3 separate regions of the Homo sapiens genome follow, and all the other regions are linked to region 2. The links are contacts of gene promoters, found by promoter capture Hi-C in blood cells and fetal thymus (Javierre and others, 2016). All regions are on one chromosome and are shown on one strand. Each heading gives the region's core, a stretch centred on a gene start or on the middle of the fragment in contact. The rest is flanking DNA. Distances are from core to core; before and after follow the strand shown.

What was found. The method cuts DNA at HindIII sites, captures the fragments that hold promoters and counts their contacts. A CHiCAGO score of 5 or more calls a contact.
Region 1: a contact is called between a fragment that was not itself captured here and the fragment with the promoter of GLI2 in region 2, in 5 of 17 cell types (erythroblasts, endothelial precursors, megakaryocytes and 2 more). The highest score is 10.9, in erythroblasts.
Region 3: a contact is called between a fragment that was not itself captured here and the fragment with the promoter of GLI2 in region 2, in 1 of 17 cell types (erythroblasts). The highest score is 5.5, in erythroblasts.

What each region holds. Positions count from the first base shown.
Region 1 is chr2:121,056,108-121,059,858 of GRCh38, forward strand. LOC105373587 (a long non-coding RNA gene) reads left to right here. Exons shown (of 4, transcript XR_923267.2): 3 at 280-478; 4 at 997-1,677. Among named protein-coding and RNA genes, the nearest start is that of TFCP2L1, 230 kb to the right of the region's middle. The HindIII fragment of the contact is 5,028 bases long and covers 1-3,751 here.
Region 2 is chr2:120,733,641-120,737,233 of GRCh38, forward strand. It overlaps GLI2 (GLI family zinc finger 2), which reads left to right and starts at 2,228. Exons shown (of 14, transcript NM_001374353.1): 1 at 2,228-2,645. LOC124906073 (a long non-coding RNA gene) reads left to right here. Exons shown (of 3, transcript XR_007087219.1): 3 at 402-1,210. It overlaps LOC124907881 (a long non-coding RNA gene), which reads right to left. Exons shown (of 2, transcript XR_007087221.1): 1 at 2,921-3,593. RefSeq lists enhancers at 857-1,504, 2,144-2,313, 3,432-3,593. The HindIII fragment of the contact is 6,148 bases long and covers 1-3,593 here.
Region 3 is chr2:121,093,024-121,096,680 of GRCh38, forward strand. No RefSeq gene overlaps it. Among named protein-coding and RNA genes, the nearest start is that of TFCP2L1, 190 kb to the right of the region's middle. The HindIII fragment of the contact is 5,076 bases long and covers 1-3,657 here.

The sequences.
Region 1 (3,751 bases), core at 797-3,296, 320 kb after region 2:
TGCTCACATGAGTATCCATGCCAGGGGAAGCTAGAGAGATGGAAAGTAGGTTAGTGGTTGTCAGAGGCAGGGGGTTGGGGGAGAAAGGCTCCATAGAGGCGATAGTTAAAGGGTATAGGGGTTCTTTTTGAAACGAAGAAAACCTTCTCAAATTTGCTGTGGTGATAGTTGCACGTAGCTGTGCGTACACTAAAAACCATGGAGTTGTACATTTTAAAGGGATGAATTGCTTGGTGTGTGAATTACATCTCAGTAAAGGCCCTTGCTACTGTCTGGCAGGGGAGCAGCTGCTCTGTCCTATAAGGTGGCGTAAGTATGGAGAACAGGCCCAGACTCTTCCTAACAGCCCACGGGAGCCAGCAGGAGCCAGCAGGAGGCCAGTGGGGATGGAGAGAGGATGGCACAAAGGGACGGCAAGGTCCGGCAGGGGTTGGGAACACTGAGGCAGCCGCAGACTCTACAAGGTCTCCAGGTCCAGGTGAGATCCAGAGGCAGCCAGATGCCTGACTGAGCCCTGCTCCCACCTACCTCAACTGTGCTCCCATTGCCTGACAGCCATTCATTCATTCATTTGTTCATAAATTTGCCCATTCATTCAGTGATTTATTCACCTAGCAAATATCCATTTGATGTCTACTTTGTGCTTCCAAGATTTTCATTCACCATCCACGTAACTGTCCTCTCATGATTCTGTACACTCATTTCTCAGGTATTTAATGAGCATCTACTATGCACCACACACTGCAGTAGGTGCTGGGGTGCAGGTGGACAGCACAGACAAGAATCTCTGCCTGCTCAGCAATGGACACCTTAAAGGAAAAACATTCAAGTATCTTACATTGCAGTTATTATGTTTTTAAAATAGGGGAGCACCAAACAAGACATAAATTTTTTCTTACGGAATTATATAGCCCAGATGAGTTTACAAATGTAATCAAGTACAACCGTAAAATCAATGAAAATGTCAGTGTTCTGTGCCTATGTTCTGTCTTGCAGAGCGTGGACCCTCTGAAGTCAGTCCTTCCTCCACAGTTTCTGTCTGAAATCCTGCTCCACGTTGTGTTCGGCTTTCACGTGGCACACGCCTCTCCTTGCTGGACACGCCAGCCAGGCTTTGTCATTTCATCCTATCTTTTTTGTCAGCTCATGACAGTAACAGCAGTGTCACTCCAAAACAACCTTGGCATTCACACCAGCACCTATCTGGGCACCAAAATCTCGAGGTGACACTTGGCTTTGAGGCCAGCCTCCCACATCTTTCAGAGCATGCTCCATGAGTGACCTGAATCTGCCTGCTGACATCCTCAGGTGGAATATGCCACCAGGGTCCCTTCTCCAGCCCCACCACACTGCGGCCCACTCCTTCCAGGCACCCCGGAACACTGTCCGACAGCGCCGACCCACAGGATGTTCCAGGACCATGGAAGTGCTTTATGTCTGTGCTGTCTAATACAGGAGTTATTGAACATTAGAAATGTTGTTAGTGGGCTGGGGAACTGAACTTTTAATTGCATTTAGTTGTAGTTAATTTAAGTGTAAATCATCACTTGTGGCTCGTGGCTACCTTACTGGGTAGCTCTGGCTAGCTCTACGGGATCTAGGTCAGCCTTCTTAAAAAGATGGAAGAGGTTGGGTGTGATGGCTCACACCTGTAATCCCAGCACTTTGGGAGGCCGAGACAGGAGGATCACGAGGTCAGGAGTTCGAGACCAGCCTGGCCAACATGGAGAAACCCTGTCTCTAATAAAAATACAAAAATGAGCTGGGCGTGATGGTGGGTGCCTGTAATCCCAGTTACTTGGGAGGCTGAGGCAGAGAATTGCTTGAAACCGGGAGGCAGAGGTTGCAGTGAACCGAGATTGCGCCACTGCACTCCAGCCTGATGACAGAGGGAGACTCCATCTCAAAAAAAAAAAAAAAAAAAAAAAGAATCTCTTCAGCAAAATGAGTTCTTAATCATTTATACTGTTTTGTTTTGTTTTGTTTGAAGCCACGATTTATTCAGCACCCACCCTGTGCCAATCACTGTACAGGGTGCTGGGACCTGGGGATGACTAAGAGGATTTCTGCCTAAGTTCCTGGTTGGAATACTTACAGGGACTGACTCTCCCGGCCAAGGAGGGGTGGGGAACAGGAGGCCCGGAGCCAAGCCATGACCCTGGGTGGGTGCTGGCTTCCTTAGGTGGGTGCAGGGAGAAGGTGTCTGCTCGGGTCCAGAAGCACGCACATGTGAAACCACAGGGTGGGCTTAAGCAGCACGAAGGAGAGTGGAGGAGCCCGGTATGGCTGAGGCCAGGGAGGGTCTGGCAGCAGGATGAGGGTGGCAGGAGGCAGCCCCTGGAGGGCCCAAAACCCTGATTCTGTTTGGCTCCTGAGGAGCTTGGTCACTGTCCTATGGTGGCATGGAGTCCCGGAGTGTATGTGGAGGGCAAATGGGCAAGGTAGGAGGTTGTGGGTACCAGGCTGAGCACAGGAGAGAGGCCCGGGCTGGGACCGATCTGGGTGCCAACAGCGGGCATGGCAGAGCGGAGGGCAGTCGACGCAACAGGGGCTCCTGACAGATAACTGCCTGGCAGACGCGCCTCCCCGCAGCAGAGGAAAGGAGAGACAGAACCTCAGTGGTGTCAGAGGAGGACATGCAAGGCTGGAATGAGGCCCCTCCATGGTCGTGGAACTCTTGGGCCCCGACACCCCTATGGGCAGCCTTTGCTTGTTAGGCAGGGGCCTTGGGAGGAGGCGCAGACCCAGCTTCGGGGATGGGATCAGGCCCAGAAGAAACAGATGCCCACCTTCCCAGGCCTGTTTTTCATTCTGGTGCCACCATAAATTGCCTGGAGCAGCCCCCGCCCTCCCCCGGCCCCTGTTTTGCAGTCGGGGAGTATCAGTCATGATAAGACATTACTTAAAGCAGTGGTGACAGGGCCTAATCAGTCTTGTGAAATATAGACTTCTCCCCACACTGCGGGCAGGGCCAACATTAATACACATTTATGCAAAGCAAGAGCTGTAGCTGTCGGGTGCTAATCTTTACAAGTATGATAAATGATGTTTATTTTCAGTGATGGAACGAAACACCCCAGCCGACAGTAATTGTAATAAAAAGGACAGATCAACTTCTATAAAGTGATTGAATTACCCAACGATTACATTAATGTCCACACTCTGGTGTGTCACCAGCTTCCTCGAGGTTCTGAGGACAACGTGCAGGACAATTTCCCCTTCAAGTCACCACCTGCCCTTCACCCACCTGGGCTCCTGGGGCAGAGGTGGCTGCAGCTGGGAGTGATGCCATTGGTGGCCTCCAGACCAGACTGTTTTCATCTTGTGTGGAAGGAACCTAGGCTGGGCGGCTGGAAGTGGCCGGGCAGTAGGTGGGAGGGCTGGGGGGCGGCAGAGGGGGACCCTGCCTCGACCAGCCTTTTGGAACAGAAAATACATTCTTATGTCTAATTCTCCCCATAATGCTGAAGGCTAGCAGCTATTATTATACTCTTTTTGCAGGTCAGGAAGTGGAGGCTCAGGAAGGTTAAGTGGCTTGGCCAAGGTCACACAGCTAGTGTGTGTCCAAAGTCCAAAATGAGATTCCCTCCCGGAAGCATTTAATAGGGTGCTATGGAAGTGCCTGAGGGGACCCCTGGCTCCCAGCTCTTTCTCTGATGGTGACCAGGTGCCTGCCCAGCCCTGACAGTGGCCTGGAGGACCTGAGTACCAAGTGCCTCACTGTGGAGGCCTGCAGAGGTCTGGGTACCAG
Region 2 (3,593 bases), core at 978-3,477:
AACTTCTTCACAAACTTTACAACACAAGGAAATCAACAGAGACAAGCTCATAATGAAGTAATCAGCCAACGCGGCTAATATTCCAGCAATGAGAAATGATTCCCTACATGTCATGGGGCAGATATGAATAGGGTCATTAAAATATGGCCAAGGAGGGGAGGGAGAGTTTACTTTTTCTGTCTCCTTAGAGTCTGTGTTCTGAAAGCTCAGCAGGAATTTAAACAAATAGCACGGAGGAATGGTGAATCTGATCATCTTTAAAGAAAAAGCCCCTTTCAAACTTCTCTTTAAATCATTGGCTTATGCAAGTTTCGCTTTTTAAAAATGCTGCCGACCTTTTCCCCCCAAACAAAATTAGCATCAAATTGTTCTAATATTTTTCTGCATATTTTTTTCTCTAGGTCAAGAAGAAATTGTTGCTCCATCATATAAGTGAATGTCAGGAGGAGGAAGGAGGATCTTAAGGAATGAAGTTCTAATGCATCCTCTTTGATTAAAAAGTAAAAGAATAAAGTTAGCAGAGGATAAAAGGTATATGGAGAGAGCCACCCACAAAAAGGGTTGCACCGGTGAAATGGGCCTGTGTAGGTCACATCCCCTCAGGGAGGGTAGCATTGGGTCCCTTGCATTTCAAATAAAATGCAATTTTAGGAACAGGGGCTGAAGGGAGAGACACTTCCACCCACCTCAACAGGGCAATTTTTTAAAAATTTAATTTAATTAATTTATTTTTTTGAGACAGAGTCTCGCTCCATCACCCAGGCTGGAGTGCAGTGGCGCCATCATGGCTCACTGCAACCTCCATCTCCCAAGGGGTTTGAGAGATTCTCCAGCCTCAGTCTCCCAAGTAGCCGGGATTACAGGCGCGCGCTACTATCCCTGGCTAATTTTTTGTATTTTTAGTAGAGACGGGGTTTCACCATGTTGGCCAGGCTGGTCTTGAACTCCTGACCTCAGGTGATCCCCGTGCCTCGGCCTCCCAAAGTGCTAGGATTACAAGCGTGAGCCACCGCGCCCGGCCCAACAGGGCAAATTTAACTGAACTTACAGTACAACCACCCGAAGCTCTGGGAGGATGGCAGAGTGCTCTGACCTTAGACTAGTTACTTAACTTTTTAAAGCATCAGACTTCCCACCTGTAAAAACACGAGAAGAGAACCTTCCTTACAGAGCTGTGAAAGTCCAATAATACAAAGAAAATATAACATCACCTGGCACTTGGTAGAGTGTTCTACAAACGTTAGGAAGAATAAAACCAGAAATTCCCCCCAAGACCCTCTTCGGGTGAGGCCCAGGGGCCCTGGAGAGGGTGGCAGGCCCGGGGGTGTGGGGAGGACACTTTAGCCAGCTGCCCCCAATTCTCCTCCAAGCCTGGCGGCCCAGTTCCGGGCTGTGGTGTGGCTTGAGGGCCCAGGGCTCCTCACTGAGCTTGCTTAAGCAAGTTCTTTCACACACAGCCCCATATACACTTTGGCTAGAAAATTCAATGAGGAGTTTTTTCTTCCTTCTTTCTCTGTTGTTGTTGGGTTCTGATTACTTCCATCTGGCTTCAGCGGCTCGAGTGGAGTCTCTAAAACACACAACACAACAAAACAAAAACCCACCCTGCAAGCCACATGCACCAAACCTAGAAGGCTGCTTCGTTTCTCGCCAGCGTGTGCTCAGATGGCGACGAGGGCTAGCGGCGGCGGGGGACGCCTCAGGACCCCCGGCACCTGCGCTCGCTGCCCGCGGGAAGAGGGTCCGCGTGGACCCAGCCCCCGCGTCCCTTCTCTGGCGTCCCCGGCTTCCGCGCGGGCGTCCAGAGAAGCGGGCGCCCTGGGAACAGCGACCCAGGCATCTCCCCGAGGAGGGAAGTGGGAGGTGGGGAGGGCGGGGGGATTTCAGAGATTGAAAACAGAGCAGCCCTTGCCCCTCAGCTCCGGAGCTCATCTGACTTGAGTTAGCGACACCCCCAACCCCCCCCCCCACACCTAGTCGTCTAAAAAAAGTGTCGGAGATTGGCGCGTCCTTTGGTTCCTTTCTCGAACTTTCCTTGTAGGTGCGTTTTCTTTCCTTGGTGCTGGGTGGGGAGAGTCCCTGTGCTCCCCCTTTCCCCTCCCCCCGCCCCGGCGGCGTTCGGGTCCCCCTGCGTCCCCCGGCAGGGAGCGGGCGGGCTGGCTGGCGGGTTCTTGGGGCCCGGGTGTGCCCGCACCGTGCGCGCGGGGGCGCTGCGCAGTCCGGCGGCGCTGATGGATTGCAGAAGTGCCGGCGCTTGCCAGCCGAGGCAGCACGGCTCCGCGGACTTTTTTTCAAACTCCCATCAATGAGACTTCGAGGAGGAGCGGGCGGCGGCGGCGGCTGCGACTGCGAACGCGGAGGAAGGCCAGGAGCCGCAGGAGGAGCCGGAGGAAAGAGCTTGGGCCGCGCGGCGCGCCGCAGCCTCGGGGAGCCGCCTGCTCGCCGGCGGTAGGGGCTGCGCGGCGCCCGCCCGCCTCTCGGTCCCCTCTCTTGCCTGGCCCGCCCCGCCCCGGCTGGCTGGAGCCCCGGCACAAGGCAGCCAGCCGAGGGTCGCCGCGCCAGCCAAGGTGGGATGGGGGCCCACAGCCACCGCCCGGCGCCCGAGAGGCCACCTGCGTGCTAGAGGCAAACTTTTGTCTCTCTCGGTAAAGTTGCATTGGCCTTCTTTTGCTTGCTTTTCGTGACGAAGCGCCTCCCACCTCGGCCAAGCGCGGGCCGACTGGGATGCTGCGCCGTCTCGGGGGGTCCCTCGGCCGGGTACCGGCGCCTAGGCCTTGGGATCGGGGCCCTGGGCTTCGGGGGACTAGAGGCTAGTAGGCGCGACCCCGCCTGGGGCTCTGGACGAGCAGGGCGGGGACGTAAGGAGAGTCCTGGGGCTTGGAGCTCGTGGCCAGAGGTCGATGTTGCACCCTCTCCCTACCTGGGGGAGAGCACCACTCTTCTCGGGGTGCACAGCGAGCCGGCCTCCGCGCGCCGGCGGGGGTCTGTTTTTTCAGGGGGTGGAGGGTGGGATCGGAGGCTGGGATGCTCCGAAGCTGCCGTAGGTGGGCATGGGAGCGTGTCTGCGGGCGTACTGAGCGCGGAGGGGCTGCAGCCAGCCACTTGAGAACTTCGAACTCCACTTCTCCGCGCTGCGCGTCCCGGAGCCCTGCCTTTCTTTCTTCCTTCCTCAATCCTTCCTCCCCCTCGCCCGGCCCGGCCGCCCCCTCCCCCTCTGCTGGGCTCTCCTCCTCGGCCCCCCCTCTTTGCCTCTCTTCTCCTCCTCTCCTGCCCTCGGCCCTGAGATCCGCTTGACTTCCCAAAGGGATCCGCACGTAATCCTTTGCCGGGTCCTCCGGTTCCCCCTTCCACCTCACTTTCATCCCTGCCCCCCTACTCATCGTCTCTCCCCACCCCCGACAATCTCTCAACAAGTATATTTGCTGAGGAATTTGAAAAATCCACTACTGCAACTTGATCTGTATGTGATGGATGGGGAGAGGCGCGGAGAGAGTTGGGCGCCAATCCTATTAAGGGTTTAGAGAGGGGAGTCTTTTCCCCGGACGGGGCGGGGGCGGGGAGCTGGGAGGGAGCGTGTGCTTGCGTGTGTGAGT
Region 3 (3,657 bases), core at 67-2,566, 360 kb after region 2:
TATCAGAAGAGGTGGTCTTGGGAACCCCTAAAACTTGTAATTGGTGTTGGAAGTGAGCACGGTTTTCTGTGTGGGCTGTGTTCCCTCCAACTTCACAGTTGGTTAAACTCTTCACATGTGGCAAACATCTGAATATTTAAATATAAAATTAGGACTTCCACTTCTAGGCTAGATGTTCTGGGGAAAAAATAAACTCCACTACAAATACCTAGACCTGTTGATTGAAACTAAACAAACATCTTTTAAATGACTACCTGATTGTATAAGAAAGTAAGGAAACTCACAAAGGCCAAAACCGAAGAAGAGGCTGAAACCAGAATGAGAAATGACCCCTGATGCTGTGGGCTGCCCTAGAAGCACCTGGAAATATCTGAAACCTATAGTCACTGGTTTTAACAGCCATACAAAAGAGAGAAGGCAGGGCCCTGGGCCCATGCAGGCAAGATGGAGTGTCAGGACTTAGACTCTTGGAAAAGCTAGAATCCTTGAAGAGCTAACTCTTGGTAAAAAGGTGACATAGAAAAAGAAGCTAACAAGAAAGTGTGTCTATCCTGGCTTCAGCTTTGGGTTAAAAAAAGAGAAAGAGAGAAGGAGGAGGAGGAGGAGAAGGGGGAAGAGAAGGAAGAGGAAAAAGAAGAGAGATATTTCACTCTTCCTTCCCCCTGAAAATGTAAAGGCCATCCTCACGTGGATTTCGGGTCTGGATTTACACTCCCTGAAGAATATCCAAGCTGAGAAATATTTTAATATGTTTCCAAGATGGAAACAAGCACTCCAGGCCTCCTGACAGATCTCTCCAGAGGACTAACCCTCAGCCTAGGCCTGTCAGGATTCCCACAGACTGAGATCTGCAAAACATGAGTTCACCATAAAAATTGAGCCTGCACAAGAGAAACAATCCATCATGAGCAAGTGTCAGCAGGAGCAGCAGATGTCAGAATTAGACCACCAAAGATGTCACATTATGGGATTATCAGGAACAGGATTCAAAGTCATGTTTTCAATGTTTATGGGAGTAAAAGGGGAAATTAAACACACATGCAGGGAACATAAAAGTATCCAAGATGACCTAACAGATTTGACACCAAATACATCTCAAAATGAAATATATAATTATTAAACTTTTTTAAAGTAAAAAATGGCATAAACATCAGATTAGGCACATTTGCAAAGGAATTCATAAATTGAAAAAAAAAAGTTGAGAGAATCATCCATAAATGTAGCTCAGAAAGATAAAGAGATGGGAAATGAGTCAGAATTCCTCTCCTGCCCTTCTGGAGAAGAGCCGTGAGCTGGATCATGTCCCGCAGGCAGATATGGATGGAAGAACAGACACTGAGCTGGAGGAGGCAAGAGTGCTCCCTCTGCCCAAATGATGCCTCCCTCTGCCCAGCCCGTATCCTTGAGAGGGAATAGGGGATAATGGGGTTGGGGTGGGGGGCACAAGGCTGTTCTCTGGGATTTCAATATCATGCTTCCCCTTAAAATTCTCAGAATGGGCCAGGCACAGTGGCTCACACCTGTAATCTCAGCACTTTCAGAGGCCAAGTTGGGCGGATCACGAGGTCAGGAGTTTGAGACAAGCCTGACCAACATGGTGAAACCCCGTCTCTACTAAAAATACAAAAATAAGCAGGGGGTGGTGGCGCGTGCCTATAATCTCAGCTACTCAGGAGGCTGAGACAGGAGAATCGCTTGAACCCGGGAGGTAGAGGTTGCAGTGAGCCGAGATCGCACCACTGCACTCCAGCCTGGGCGACAGAGCAAGACTCCGTCTAAAAAAAAAAAAAAAATTCTCAGAACGTCCATCAGCCAGGAATTTTCCTCACCCTAAGCCTTTTGGGAAGAGATTCTGTTTCCAGTTTGTTCCCTGTGGGCAAAGCCTTTCCCCCTCTTGGATTCATCTGTGCAATAGCTGGATCTCTAAGGCCACTGCCAACTCTAATATTCTATTCTGTTATGACATCCTGCGGTGACAGGTACGATATGTGCCCCACTGACTCACCTCTATACTCAGGGCAAGTCAGAGATCCCGGGATGCTTAGGAAGAGCCCTGCCTGTCCAAAACACAGTTTCAGTGCACAGCCTGAAACTCCACAATTACAGAGTCATTTATCTGGAGGTAAACATCATCCTAATTAGATTCCAAATTGTTTTTTTCTCAGAGGGGCTGGGTAAAGGATAAAATTAAAGTCATCATCAGTCACAACACCTCCATGTGAGTTATTTTAACAGTCTTTTCAAAAACAAAGTCACAGCATGCGAGATGGATTTGACAGGAGGAGCAGAGGGGAAATGTGGTAGGTCAGTCACACCCCCAGGGACTGGGCCCTAGTCCCGAGCGTAGGAGAGGCGGAGCTGGAAGGTGAACCTTCCACAGCCTCGACCGTCCGTCCTCCCTCCAGCCTCTCCACAATTCAACACCTGCTGGCCAGCAGGCGGCAGTGCACGGACGAAAATGCGCATCTCTGCTGGATTTCCCAGGAGCTCCTGGAGTTCAAATGGCTTCTTTTTCTGGTAGCCTCAGTGCTCAGTGTGGAGAGGCAGGCTGCAGACAGCAGGGACAGTGGGATGTGGGATGCACTGCCCAAGCCTTTGTAAGTCCGACCCTGGTGGTGGCCCCAGAAGCCAGGCTGCTGGACTGGGAGGGCTGCCTGGAAGATGGGGCACCTTCAAGGCTTGTCCTGCCTGACTAAGGGTGAGGGGACATTTGAGGATGAAATGAGACGTCTGGAAGTGTCCCTAACCTTCCTGGGGCTGCCCCCCGTGAAGGTCAATGCTCGATGCGGGGGCTGGAGGGGGCAGACAGCTTCATGTGTCAGAGACCCTGGAGTGCAGGTGTAGCCCCTGAGCTCTGTCTGGGCACAGTGGCATGCTCATTGAGTGGAGAGGTGGCGTGGGTCCAGCTCAGCCTGGGGAACCAGTCTGAGGCCGGGTGACAGAGCCCTTCACTCTCTAAGCCTTGCTTCTCAGACCTGTTGAATGGCTGTGAGCACTCCCGGGGGGCTGATCCCCAGCCACTGTACTCTGCAGAGGTGAGCTTGAAATTCAGAGGGGCAAGGCTGCATGCATCCCATTCCAGAGTCCTCCCATCCTATTTGAAGTCCTCTCATCCCTTCCTATTTGGGGGGCTTGTTAATGCTTCCAGGGTGCTGCAGGGCAATGGGTAGCCTGGCTCTGTACCAACACACGCAACAGCGCCCTGACTCAATGCCCCTTCCCTTGCCTTCATCTGGCCCAGGTAACCCTCTTGGGCGAGGGAGAAAAGTGAGCTGCTCAAAGAAGATACTTCCATCAGATACAGGCAAGCAGACACTTTCTATTTCTGCAGGAATGGGACTCCATCGATTCAGGAAGCCCACAGAGGCCAAGCCCACGGACTGCACATGCAACCCTCTGACTCCATCGCAGGGGTGAGGGACGTGCTCCCCCACATTGCCTTCCTATGGATTCCCCATGCCCACCCTGCTGCAAGGAATGATGCGGCAACACTGTGATCTACCGCAGTGTCTGCCAAACTCTCAGCTCACGGGGATCTCTGGGCGCTTGTTAACATTCACATTCTCATTCCAGGGGAGAGCTGGGAACCAGTGTCTGGCAAGCACCCTACATGACTCTTACACTTAGGTCAGTTTGGGGCCATGTCCACCTAGAAGA